Linked DNA regions of Homo sapiens: region 2 is linked to region 1. Evidence: promoter capture Hi-C in human tissues and cell types (Jung and others, 2019). All regions are on one chromosome and are shown on one strand. Each heading gives the region's core, a stretch centred on a gene start or on the middle of the fragment in contact. The rest is flanking DNA. Distances are from core to core; before and after follow the strand shown. Region 1 holds the start of NSFL1C (NSFL1 cofactor). Region 2 overlaps SNPH (syntaphilin).

The links. Contacts are between HindIII fragments. The study calls those that stand out against the background at their distance.
Region 2: a contact is called between a fragment that was not itself captured here and the fragment with the promoter of NSFL1C in region 1, in 1 of the 25 tissues and cell types used here (mesenchymal stem cells).

Annotation. Positions count from the first base shown.
Region 1 is chr20:1,465,192-1,471,247 of GRCh38, reverse strand. It overlaps NSFL1C (NSFL1 cofactor), which reads left to right and starts at 4,399. Exons shown (of 9, transcript NM_016143.5): 1 at 4,399-4,528. The coding sequence starts at 4,424. It also overlaps a transcript of SIRPB2 not described here. RefSeq lists a silencer at 4,105-4,374 and an enhancer at 4,669-5,170. The HindIII fragment of the contact is 15,990 bases long and covers 1-5,299 here.
Region 2 is chr20:1,287,936-1,294,101 of GRCh38, reverse strand. The region is part of intron 2 of SNPH (syntaphilin); the gene reads right to left. Among named protein-coding and RNA genes, the nearest start is that of SNPH, 25 kb to the right of the region's middle. The HindIII fragment of the contact is 5,213 bases long and covers 1-4,606 here.

The DNA of each region.
Region 1 (6,056 bases), core at 3,150-5,649:
CTAGATTGGCCAAATCATGCCCCAATGCCATTAAGCCAACATATACTGCTGTTAGACACAGGAAAATTCCTGTTGTTTCAGGCTTATGCCAATATTTCCTATGGTCACATTACAGGGAAGTGCGGGAATCTTCAGTTCTTGTCTGCTTGGAAGAAAGATTTCAGCCAAGAGACACACAGCAAAGGTGAAGTAGCAGAGTTTATTGAAGAAAGATAAAGTACGTTCCTAGAAAGGAGTGGGCTGACCTGGCTGGAAAACAGCATCAGGCAAAAAACAGCAGTAGCAGTGTTTATTTAAAGAGACAGTACACTCTGAAAGAACGAGCCAGCAGCAGCTGGTGCTGGGGGACCCTCTTTATGAGAATCTTACATGATTATTCGTGCAGGGGCATGAGGGAGCGTCACTTACAATCATGTTTTAGGTGGTCCCCCTGGCTGTGAATGTTGTGTGTTTGTACGCGCTAGTAAACACATTGCCTGTCTCATTAGCATTTAAAATCTCCACTCAGGGGTGTGTTTTGTTGTTATTATTATTATTTTTTGAGACAGAGTCTCGCTCTGTCACCTAGGCTGGAGTGCAGTGGTGTGATCTCAGTTCACTGCAATCTCTGCCTTCCGGGTTCCAGCGATTCTCCTGCCTCAGCTTCCTGAGTAGCTGGGACTACAGGCACGCACCACCATGCCTGGCTAATTTTTGTATTTTTTTAGTAGAGACGGGGTTTCACCATATTGGCCAGGCTGATCTCAAATTCCTGACTTCGTCATCCGCCCACCTCGGCCACTCAAAGTGCTGGGATTACAGGCATGAGCCACTGTGCCCGGCTTGTTATTATAATGAGCAAAAGGCTACTGTAGGGCGAGTTACTGGAGGAGTGCACATGCTCGTCAGTGGGAAAGTCCCTACCATGGTTATCTCTGGGTAAGGCCTCATAAGTCCCCTTTAGGGCCAGAGGAGCCCAACCACAAGGCCAGAAGTTGCCAGTGTAGCCATTGTCTCTTTGCTGGCCGCCAGTGGGTGGCGCTGACTGTCAGTGAATGGAGTCTCCAGGACTTCTTTTCCCAAACGCTCCCTTGCCTGCTTATTTCTGGCTATCTGCCTACTCTAACAGTCAGACTTGTAAATGTTTTACCAGTTGGATAAGGCAAAAGGGAATCTCATTGCAGTTTTCATTGGTTCTCACTGCTGACTAATGCAACCAAGCATTAGTCACCGGCTGGCAGTACTGTTATTTTATTATTATTGTCATTAGTTGAAGATGTTGTGAAAAGAGAGACAAATAGTCCCAACTTTGCTGAGGCAGTGGTAGTGTTGTTATTATTATTATTATTTTTTTTTGAGACAGAGTCTCGCTCTGTCACCTTTTGTGAAGAAGAGTGGTAGAAGAAGGCAGTGCTGAGGCTGAGGTAGTAGAGAAGGGTGAGTGGTACCGGCAGCTTCCATGTATAGGGGCCTCTGGAAGGTCTGAATGTCAGCTGAGAAATCAATCATTTGCTCCACCTAGCAGCTCCCCTGGCCCCCTAAGCTATAGAGGGTTTAGCGCTTAGGGGACTGGAGTAGGGGGTCAGAGGAGACACCAGTCCTGGGTACACACAGCTCCTGCCCAAAGTGAAGTCACCACCAGTGAGGACACGGCAGAGGGGGTGCCAAAGGAAGGCTGGGGTGGGGCGGGAGGTGGTGGAAGATAGGATTAAAGGGAGGGGCTGGGGTGAGACTGGAGTGGGAAGGAAGATGGAGATGAGCCCGGAGGGGGCTGGGGGTGAAATGGAGTGAAAGTGGGCTTTGGAGGGTGGGGTGCATTTAGTACTGAGGGTGGAGTTAGAAGGGAAAGTGGGGCGGGGTGGGTCAGGTGCTGGTGGCGGATCTGTGAGGTAGAGGTGAGGCTGGAGGTGGTCGTGGTGGTAGAATTTGGGGATGGGGCTTGGGTGGGATGGGGCTGGAGGTTGGGGGCTGGTGTGGTTGGACATAGGAGAGTGGAGCTAAAGCTGAGCCTGCAGCACCTCCTTCTCTAGTTTTGTTAAGGACACTTAGATAAGTGTTATGTAAATGTAGTTTCAAGTTCATGCCCTCACATCCCCTGCCTTAAACTCCAGTTGGGTCATCTGGAGCTGCTTCCAGAAACCAGCCATAGGAAGTGACCAGCACAGTCCTGCAGTCTAAGGAGAGACAGTGTGGTGTAGCGGTTAGAAGCAGACTCAGGAGCTGTGCCATACCTGGATTCAAAACTCTTTAGAAGTCTAGGTTTCCCCATCTGCAAAATGGAAATGATAACAATAGAACTCACTTCATAGGGTGCATGAGTTAGTGTATCTAAGGCTCTTTGCAGAGTGTCTAGGGGCATAGTAAGTGCTCAGTAAACACTAGCTGCCAGGTAGTGTTATGGGAAAGGATGCCCTCAAGTCCTCTAGAAGAGGGATCAGGGACCCTCTGGCCGAACAAAGAGCTTTCCCTGATGGCACAAAAATGAAGAGGGGGGGTGACAATGAGTTTCAATGACTCCAATACCAGCCAGGGAACTGGACCTTGAGGAGCTGATCGCCTGCAGATCTTTAAGCTGGGGTTAGTCGTTGTCAGTTTCCAGGGTAGAAAGACCTTACTGGTTGCCAATCGTGAGGTCCAGAGTGAGCCTCTAGCTTCTTGGACTTCCTGGAAAGTTGGGGTGCATTTCGAGTTGACACAATGATGAAAGGGGTAAGTCCTAGGGACCGGGGCTGGTCCTGGGTGGCCTTGCAATAGAAAGGAGAGTCTCACACCACAAAGAAAGGACCCTCCTCCCATGCCTCCTGCCAGGGCCTATTGTGGCTGCAACCATGCTCCTAATAACCTAACCCAAGCCCTAACTCGTTTGTCATATAAACTTAAAGGATTTCTTGCACAGTGTTAATAAGACACCGAATTTTCCAGGAAAGCAACTATTGTGTCAATTGAGGGAAGACTGGACTTTGTGCTGTTCATAACCTGATTAAGAGGGGTTTTGACTAAGCCTGGGCACCTTCTCAAGGTCTCCTTGAGAAAGGGACACCTGAACTGAGAGCTGAAGAATGAGCAGGGGCCGACAGAGGAAGAGGAAGGGAAGAGTGTCCCACGGTGGTGTTGGAAATTAAAGCTCGAAGTCTCAAGGAAAACCAGCACTGAAATAAAAGATTTTTCAGCAAAGCCAATTTACTTCTGCAGAAGGGTGCCACTCACACATCTGGTCTTCAGGAAAGCACACCGAACAAAAGAGAGAAGGGGTTTTTATCCCTAATGCGGTTAGTCGCTGCTTCTGTGTCCTGTTCCCATTGGCTGGGGCTGGACTGCGCAATCTAAGCTAATCCCGATTGGCTAGTTCAAATGGAGCAGAAATGTGGGCTACAGTGGTAGGGCAAGCGGTTTCGGCAGGAAGAAGAGTTTCCGCGGGAATGGCAATTGTAGCGAGGGTATCCAAGGGAACAGATGTGAGTTATAGATTAGGACCCGCGGGAAGGTTGTTTACCGTAACTAGGGGTAAGGAGGTACAAAGAACAAGGAAGTTAGGCTTTGAAAATAGAGAACAAAGAACAAGTAAGCTGAACAAGTAAGTTCCTCTTTGGAGAGGCAAGAGGGCAAAGAAGCTGAGGACCCAGAAGACAGGATTGTGCCTAAGAAAGTGGCCTTGGAGCAGAGGCCCAAAGAAAGCGGGGAGAGCGCCTTGCCCATCGGTAAGGGAAAGGTGCTCCAGGCACAGAAGCAGCTAATGCAACGGCCCTGAGGCAAATGCAAGATAACTGGCAAGTTCCAGGAACAGCAAGGAGGGCAAGGCGCCTGGAGCAGAGGAAGCTAGCGGATCCCTTGATGAGAGGGAGGAACTGGCCCATCTCTCATGGGTCCTGCAGGCAGGCCATGAGACTGTCTTTTATGCGGGGCGAGATAACGAGGCATGGACGTGTTGTGAGCGGAGGCCTAGCCTGTTCAAGGTCTGAATTTTTACCCCTAGAATGTAAGAAGCATGGGAGCAGGGACTTTGTTTTGCTCCCTGCCATATCCACAGCCCTAGAAAAACGTCGGGCCATTGATAGCTCTCAGTAAATGCTTGACAAGTAAGTGAATGAACGAATGCACAATTAATGAAATGAGGGCTGCGTCAATGAATAACTGGGAATCTGACTCCTGCAGGGAGCCTTCAGCCCACAGGTGTATGTAAGACCCGCCCCGCCTCTCATCCTTCGGGCTCCCACCCCCGCCGTTAGGCTGCGGTTCGCGCCGCGGTCGCCAGAGGGCGCGGAGCGGCGGGGCTTCCCGCACGGAGGGCTTTGCGTGAGGCACCGCGTGGGGCGGGGCTGCGGGCGGGCTCCCAGCTGCTGGGCCCTCATCGGCTGGGCCTCGTCGACCGGCAAGCGGAACGCGGCAGCGGGGCTGGGCCTGTGCGGCGGCCGCCGGAGCGCTTTGGAAGGCGCACGGGGCGAAGATGGCGGCGGAGCGACAGGAGGCGCTGAGGGAGTTCGTGGCGGTGACGGGCGCCGAGGAGGACCGGGCCCGCTTCTTTCTCGAGTCGGCCGGCTGGGACTTGCAGGTAGCGCCGCGCGGCGGGCTGTGTCGGGTGGGCCGGGGACTGCTGGGAGCGGGCGCCTGGTGCCTTAAGCCCGCGGCGGCCGAAGCGCACAGTCATCCCCGCTCTACCGCGGCCCGACCCAGGCCTCATGGTCCCGGGACCGCTTGTCACGCGTCGCCTGCTCGGCTTGGGAGTGGGGGAACGCGGGCCAGCCCCAGCCAGTTCTGCCGTGCCAGTTTCACCCTGCCTCGCCCGCTTGCGGCGTCAGCGAGACTTCGGGCGCTGCGGCAGCCGGCGAGGAGAGGGAGCGCCTGGGGGCGTGGCTGCCGCGCCGAGTATCTGCTGGAGGCCGGGCTGGTCCGAGTGAGCAGCTCTTGGGTGAAGCCCCACTCGGGACTAGGTGGCCGCTCATTTCCACTTCCGAAGTCCAGCCCGGGAGTTGACCGCCGCCCAGCCTTCCTAATTGCTGGGAGAATACCTCTGGGGTGGTGGCGCAAGGTTGGAGCTTCTTCACCTTGCGTAGTTAACTTATCTGTAAAATGGGAGTCTCGTGGAAATTGCTGTGTAGTTCATTGGCACGTACTGAGTATTCACTAAATACTTGCTAAGAAGACTTAAGCTTCACGAGGCAGGGATTTTTGTACACTGATGAATTCCCAGTGCCTGGAACAATGCCTGGCACATAATAAGCATTCGGTAATTAACTGTAGAAAGAATTGCATAAATATTCTTGGCCAGCTTCGTCTTAGGTAGATGATGACGGTGATGACTAATATTTATTGAGTACCTACCATGAGCCAAGCGCTGTTCTGACTGCTTTACATGTCTTTTGTCATTTAACCTTCGCATTTTGCAGCTGAGATTAAAGAGGTTAAGTAACTTGCTCAAGGCCTCACTAGCTACCAGGCAGAAGAGGTAGAAGTGGAACCCAGTTCTGTCTGATTGCAAGCAGACAGAGCCCAAGCTTTAAACCACCATGTGCCAAGCACTTTACATAATATGATTCGTTGGATCCTAGCAACACTATGAGGTAAAGACTAGACCCATTTTATGGATGAGGAATTGGAAGCACAGAGGGCAAAGAATTTGCTCAGGGTCACATAGCCAGTAAGTAGCGGGGTTGGAATTTGAACTGAGTCTGCTGCCAAACGTAAATTACTCCCCAAACATAAGAATTCGGTAAAGCATCACACCTAGATCACACCTAGACACAATGGGAAGCCCCTATGCTGGGCAGAAATAAAAAGTTTCTACCTGAAAGACCTAAAAGCACACAGTGTTGTGACCAACAGATCTTCTGTCTCGTTCCCCTCACATTGTAGTGGGGAAACTGAGGATCATGCATGTGACTTGCCTGGCAGGAACAGGACTTGAATGTAGGCTCCCTGAGAATGCCAGTTCACTACATGGCCTGAGACAGCACACTGCCTCCCAGCAGATTACTTTTATCCCTTGACAGCTCACTGTCTCCTGTGAAGTTGGTGACCCTGAGGACAGAGGCCATGTCTATTTCATCTCTGTGACCTCAATGCTTTCTTGTGTTTGTGCA
Region 2 (6,166 bases), core at 751-3,250, 170 kb after region 1:
CATCATCCCTGCCCTTCTGGCTTTTGGGAGGATGCAAAAAGGAGGCTGAGCCTTCAGGAGGACTTTCCAGCAGAGGCAGGACTCAGATCTGAGGATGGGCTCTTCCAAGCCAGTGTGAGTGAGTGTTCTAAGGAGCCAGGAAAGTCCAGGCAGAGTGCTAGGCCCAGTCCTGGGAGGCAGGCAAAATGCCTGGTTTGTCTTGGAGCTGCGTGTGGCCTTGCTACAATGAGGGCCTTGTCCCAGCTGTCCCTGCCACTATCTTGCTTGGCTACCCCACACCTGCCTCCTCTTGAGTTCCCTCTTCCTTCCTCCCTGGCCTGGGGGAGGGAAGGGGGTGGCACTTGTACCTGCGTATAGCTAACAGTCTCCTGGGCACCCAGAGCCAGGTATTCATTAGGGACAAAGGTGGAAGACGCATTTCCCCTGCTGGGATGGGACCTTGCAGGCAGGGTCCCTCATGGGAGGGCAGAAGCCACCCAGGCCCAAAGGGAGCCACCTCTCAGGATCCTACTCAGAAAACTCAGTGTGCATCCTGTGCTCTCTCAGGTCCTCCCTCCCTTCTAGGCCCTAGCAAGGAGGCAGGTTGCCATGGTGTTTGTCACCATGCCACCTGCTTAGCCTGGAGTCCCGCAGGCCTCTCCCCAGGTGGCCAGAGGCTGCCACTTGGAAAGGAAGGTAGAAAGAAAACCCTTAACTGTGGGAAGCTGGGCTGATAGTCTCTCATCACTTTAACCCCAGAGTAAACCCAGCCCCTGCCCTCACTGAACTTCCCTCCACTTCCCCATCTTGTCCACACCATAGCAACCCTGCTGCATCCACTCCTTTGACTGCTCCCTCAAATGCTCAACACTTCCTAACCCCCCCGACAATGGGGGTCCAGGGAGCATGAGACTAATGACTGCAGAAGTCAATATGAACTGATCTGGGCTCAAATGCCAGCTCTGGCACCCTTCAGCTGCATGCCTTGGGCAAGTCACCCACTTCTCTGAGCCTCACTGCCCATATCTGTAATAACTGGGGCTCTAATGAATGCACCTCATATGGTTACTGTGAGAATAACATAAAATAATGTGAGTATGGGGCTTAGGTCAGTGCCTATCACACAATAAACACTAAAACATGGGGGCAGCCAGTATTTTGGAAGTAACATGAAGTGAGCTTCAAAACAGAAACACATTCAAGCCATAATAGTGTCTTCAGGAGGATCCAGGAACGCTTCTCTACACAAGAAATTTGCACTGGGTCTTGAGGGATGAATAAGAGTTCACCAGGTGGCAGCAGAAAATGGGAGGGAAGGAGAAGTCTGGACACAGGCAGTGAGTGACAGCTGGCTGCTCAGAAACTAGGGAGCCTGTTGAGGGCAGAAGTACAGTGGGAGTGAGGCTGCAGAAGGAGGGGGGCAGGCCACACAGAGCCACTTAAGCCAGGATCTTGTCCTGTGGGCAACAGGAAGCCATGCAAGTGCTTTATAGGAAAGGGGCACAATCATATTTGCATTTTAGAAAGTTCCTGATAAGGAGCCTGTGTGGAGAGGGAGGGATACCAGATACCAGTTAGGAGGTTACCAACCAGGGGAGAAATTAGGAGGGCCTGGGCCAGGGTCATGGCAGGAACAATGGAGAAAAGGGCCTGGACCCTGTTCAAAATTCCTTGGAAGTCCCAGATTAGGTAAAAATCAGAGCAAAGCTCTTGATGTGGGTGCTTAAGGCCCTCTCATCTACAACCTTTCCAACTGGCTCTCTGATACATCCAGGAGACCTCGGCTAGTCACTCCCAAATCTGCATCTCTACATGGGCTGTTTGTCCCATCTGCAGCATCTTCCCTGCCTGTCCTCAGGCATACATTGCACTCTTTCTTTAGGTCCCACCCACAGCCTTTCCACCAGTGACTTCTCCTATCACTTACTGTCTTGACCACTTAGGATGCTATGCCTTAGACTAAAACTCAGGGAACACCATCCCCTGGGAAACTTCATAAAAACAAACACAATCAACACACAACTGTTGGTAATACAATGGTTTAAACAAGCACATTGAATAGACCAAAGAGTCAGATTAGATGGTCTCTAAGGTGCTCTGGATCTAACATTCTCTAATTCTAGAGCTGTCAATGAAATTATGGGCTTCTAATTGATGCTTCTTTCTCCTTCATTACTAGGACTTTCGGGTCTCAGTTTCCACATATGTAAAATTAGGAAGCTCCATTCTTCAAAGAGACATGATAGCATTTTCCCCAATCAACAGTCATGGGGGAAAAACCAGGTGCTTGGGTTAATCTAATATTCCAGCTAAGCAAAAGTCCCTGTATGTACTATAATTTATCTTCTTTCAAAGAATTAGCCATTGATACAAGAAGAAAGCTATCCTAAAATCCGAGGGAACAGAACAATCTGTGTCTGATGACTCAAACCACTGACAGCTGTGGAAAGCAGAGCATTGCAATCAACAGAGCAGAACTTGGGAGGGATCCTCTCTTTGCCAAGGTAACACTAGAACGCAGAACATTCCACCCATCAGACAGCAGAGTGCCTGGTGCTCCTAGAATGCTAATGCAGAGAGGTGGGAATAGAAGACAGGCCTGGGAGTGTTCCAGCAGCCACACTCTAGATCTCAGAAGATTAGCACTACCAGGGCTATTCACAGCTGAGGAGTTCAGTAAACCCTGCACTGGCTATGGCCTCATCAGCCACTATGTGCCTCTGCTCCTCCTTTGTCAACAAAACCTAGGATCTTCCTTCCAGGACTTGCTGGCATTTCTCCAGCTTGCTTCCTGTTTCCCACACAAGCCACCCTCAAAGCTGGGACCACACATGAGGCGCCATCCGACTTCTTCTCACTGTTGTGGCAACCCCAACACAGCGGCAAGGCAGACCCACAACTTGGCCAAATGCTGTGAGAAGCTTCCCCAGGCAACCAGCATAGGTTGAGGGCTGAGGCAGCTGCTACACAGGATGTGTCTCCAGTGATTAGACTCAGATTCCAGAGCTGAAGGGCATCAAGCCTAGGTCTTCAAACCACCCAAGAGGACTTGCCTCTGCACCTACTGGGAGGGGTGGCTTGGGCCTCCTCCCCCATTTCACCTGAAGAGGCTCCTCTCGTATGTGTTTTACATATGGAAGGTGTGAAGTAAGACTACTTTTTAAAAAGGATTTTTCAGGTTAAAAATCTATGGAATACTTATTTTCCACAATGAGATATTGTTTCACATTCACTAGGATGGCTAGCATAAAAAAGATGGACAATAACAAGCGTTGTCAAGGATGTGGAGAAGTTGGAACTCTCATGTATTGCTGGTGGGGATGTAAAATGACGCTGCTGCTATGGAAAACAGTTTGGTGGTTCCTCGAAAAGTTAAACATAGAATTGCCATAAGAACCAGCAATTCCACTGCTAGGTATATACCCCAAAGAATGGAAAATAGATGCTCAAACAAAAACTTGTATAAGAAGTGTACTTCACAGTAGCACTATTCTTAATAGCTAAGAGGTGGAAATAACCCAAATGTCCACCAATAGAAGAATGGATAAACAAAATGTGATGCGTCTATGCAATGGAATATTTAGCTATAAAAGGAATGAAGTATTACTGATCCATGCTACAACACAGATGAACCTTGACAACATTATGCTAAATGAAAGAAGCCAGATACGAAAGGCCGCATATTGCATGATTCCATTTATATGAAATATCCAGCACAGGCAAATGCACACAGACAGAAAACACACTGGAAGGGAAGAAGGAACAGGGAATGACTGGTAATGGGAATGGAGTTTCTTTTTTGGGAAGATAAAAAACGTTTTAGAAGTAGCTAGTGGTGATGGTTATATAATTTTGTGAGTATCCTAAAATCCCTGAATTGTACATTTTAAAAACTTAATTTTTTTTTTTTTGAGACAGAGTCTCACTGTGTCGCCCAGGCTAGAGTGCAGTGGCACGATCTCAGCTCACTGCAACCTCCGCCTCCCGGGTTCAAGTGATTCTCATGACTCACCCTATCGAGTAGCTGGGATTACAGGCACGCACAACCACACCTGGCTAATTTTTGTATATTTTAGTAGAGATGGGGTTTCTCCATATTGGCCAGGTTGGTCTTGAACCCCTGGCCTCAAGCAATCCACCCACCTTGGCCTCCCTGCTCCCAAAGTGCTGGGATTACAGGTGTGAGCCACTGCATCTGGCTATTAAAAGGATAAATTTTATGGAATGTAAATTATATCTCAATAAAAAACAAATTTTTAAAAATACATGTGATATATATTTAATTTTTTTTTAGAGCCAGGGTCTTACTCTGTCACCTAGGCTTGGAGTGCAGTGACAAAATCATAGCTCACTGCAGCCTCAAACTCCTGAGCTCATGCGATCCTTCTGCCTCAGCCTTTCCAGTAGCCACCTCACCTGGCTAATCTATTTTTTACTTTTTTTAAAGGTGGGGTCTCACTATGTTGCTCTTGGTGGTCTCAATCTCCTGGCCTCAAGCCATCCACCAGCGTCACCTCCTGAGTTGCTGGGATTACAGGTGTGAGCCACCATGCCCCTGACTCCATTGTGTGTGTGTGTGTGTGTGTGTGTGTGTGTGTGTGTGTGTGTGTATTTAAATGAACCGTTGCATTAATAAAAAGACAGGCATGGTCCAGAAAGGGGTAGAGACTCTTCCAGAATGGCTCAGCAAGTTGCAGCAGAAGGGGAGCAAGAGCCAGTGCCCCCCCTCTACCTGACTTCAGGTAGCTGGGCCCAGGATGCTTCCCTAGACTTTGGGTCAGCCTGGAGGAGACTGGTAGCTGAGGCTGCCCCTAAAGCTCTTGCATATTCACAACTTCGTTGAATCCTCACACAAATTCCCCATAGAGGGAGGCCAGGTAGAGACTAGTCCATCTGATCTATGGGAAACCTGAAGCCTCAGAGGTTACAAGAGTCACCAAGGGCTGGACCCTGGATTTCCAGGTCATGGGCACCTGCATTTCTACTGCATCATGAAGGTCTCATAATACAGTAGACCTGGGACACTTATCATTCTGCTGCATAAAAGAAAAAACCTACTTTTCCATGAGACTCTAAGATACCACAATGGAGATGAGCAGGTATATACCTGCATTTTGGGCTGGTCATACTTCCATAAAAGCAGGGCATCACAGACATAAGAGGTAAGCATACTACAGAGAGTCGTTTAAAAAGAAATTCTTGGCCAGACACGGTGGCTCACACCTGTAATCCCAGCACTTTGGGAGGCCGAGGTGGGCGGATCACCTGAGGTCAGGATTTCAAGACCAGCCTGGCCAACATGGCAAAAACCTGTCTCTATTAAAAATAGAAAAATTAGCTGGACGAGGTGGTGGGTGCCTGTAATCTCAGTTACTCGGGATGCTGAGACAGGAGAATATCTTGAGCCTGGGAGGCAGAGGTTGTAGTCAGCCGAGATCACGACATTGCACTCCAGCCTGGGCGACAGAGTGGAGACTCCATCTCAAAAAAAAAAAGAAAAAAAGAAAAAGAAATTCCTCATGTGCCTTCTCCCTAACTAGTGACTTTCCCTGTTCCTCTAAGAATCAGCCTCGCAGGCAAAGGAGAAGCCCTTTCCATGAGGAGCACTGCTCTTTCCTCTTCCAACAACTGCTGCGTCCCACCCAGCAGCCCAGCTGCTGTGCAAGCCCACCACTGAGAGACCCTCAGCTCCTCTGAGCCATATCACATCGTCCATCTTGGTGACCTTGGGTCTTTGACCTCTGTTCGTCTCAGCTGTCTCATGCATTCACTCAGGAAGGCGCCACCTTCCTGGCCCTGCTGTCTCTTTGGGATCCAACCAAGGTAATGAATGGAGGGATGGGGGTAGTTCTTGGGAAATTAGAGGACTGAACATTTCTTGCTATCACTATTACCTGTCGAAGGAGATCTCTCTTTTTCCCTTCTTCAGAAATAATTCTTGCTTTATCACCTCAGCGGACATCAGCAGGCCCAGGCATGAGTGACTCTGAAATGACTGGCAAACTCTGCTAGGCCAAGTGACCTGGGCTGGCTTTCCAGGGCAATGTCTGGCAGGCCTCCCGTCTGGGTAGGGAGTAGTAGGGGGAACACTGGTTCCCATGCTTCCACCATCCCAGCTGCTCCACGGCTGCCCCTCTGCAGACACCCATGGAGAAATGTGAGGAACGGAGGGGCAGTGGTGCCAGCC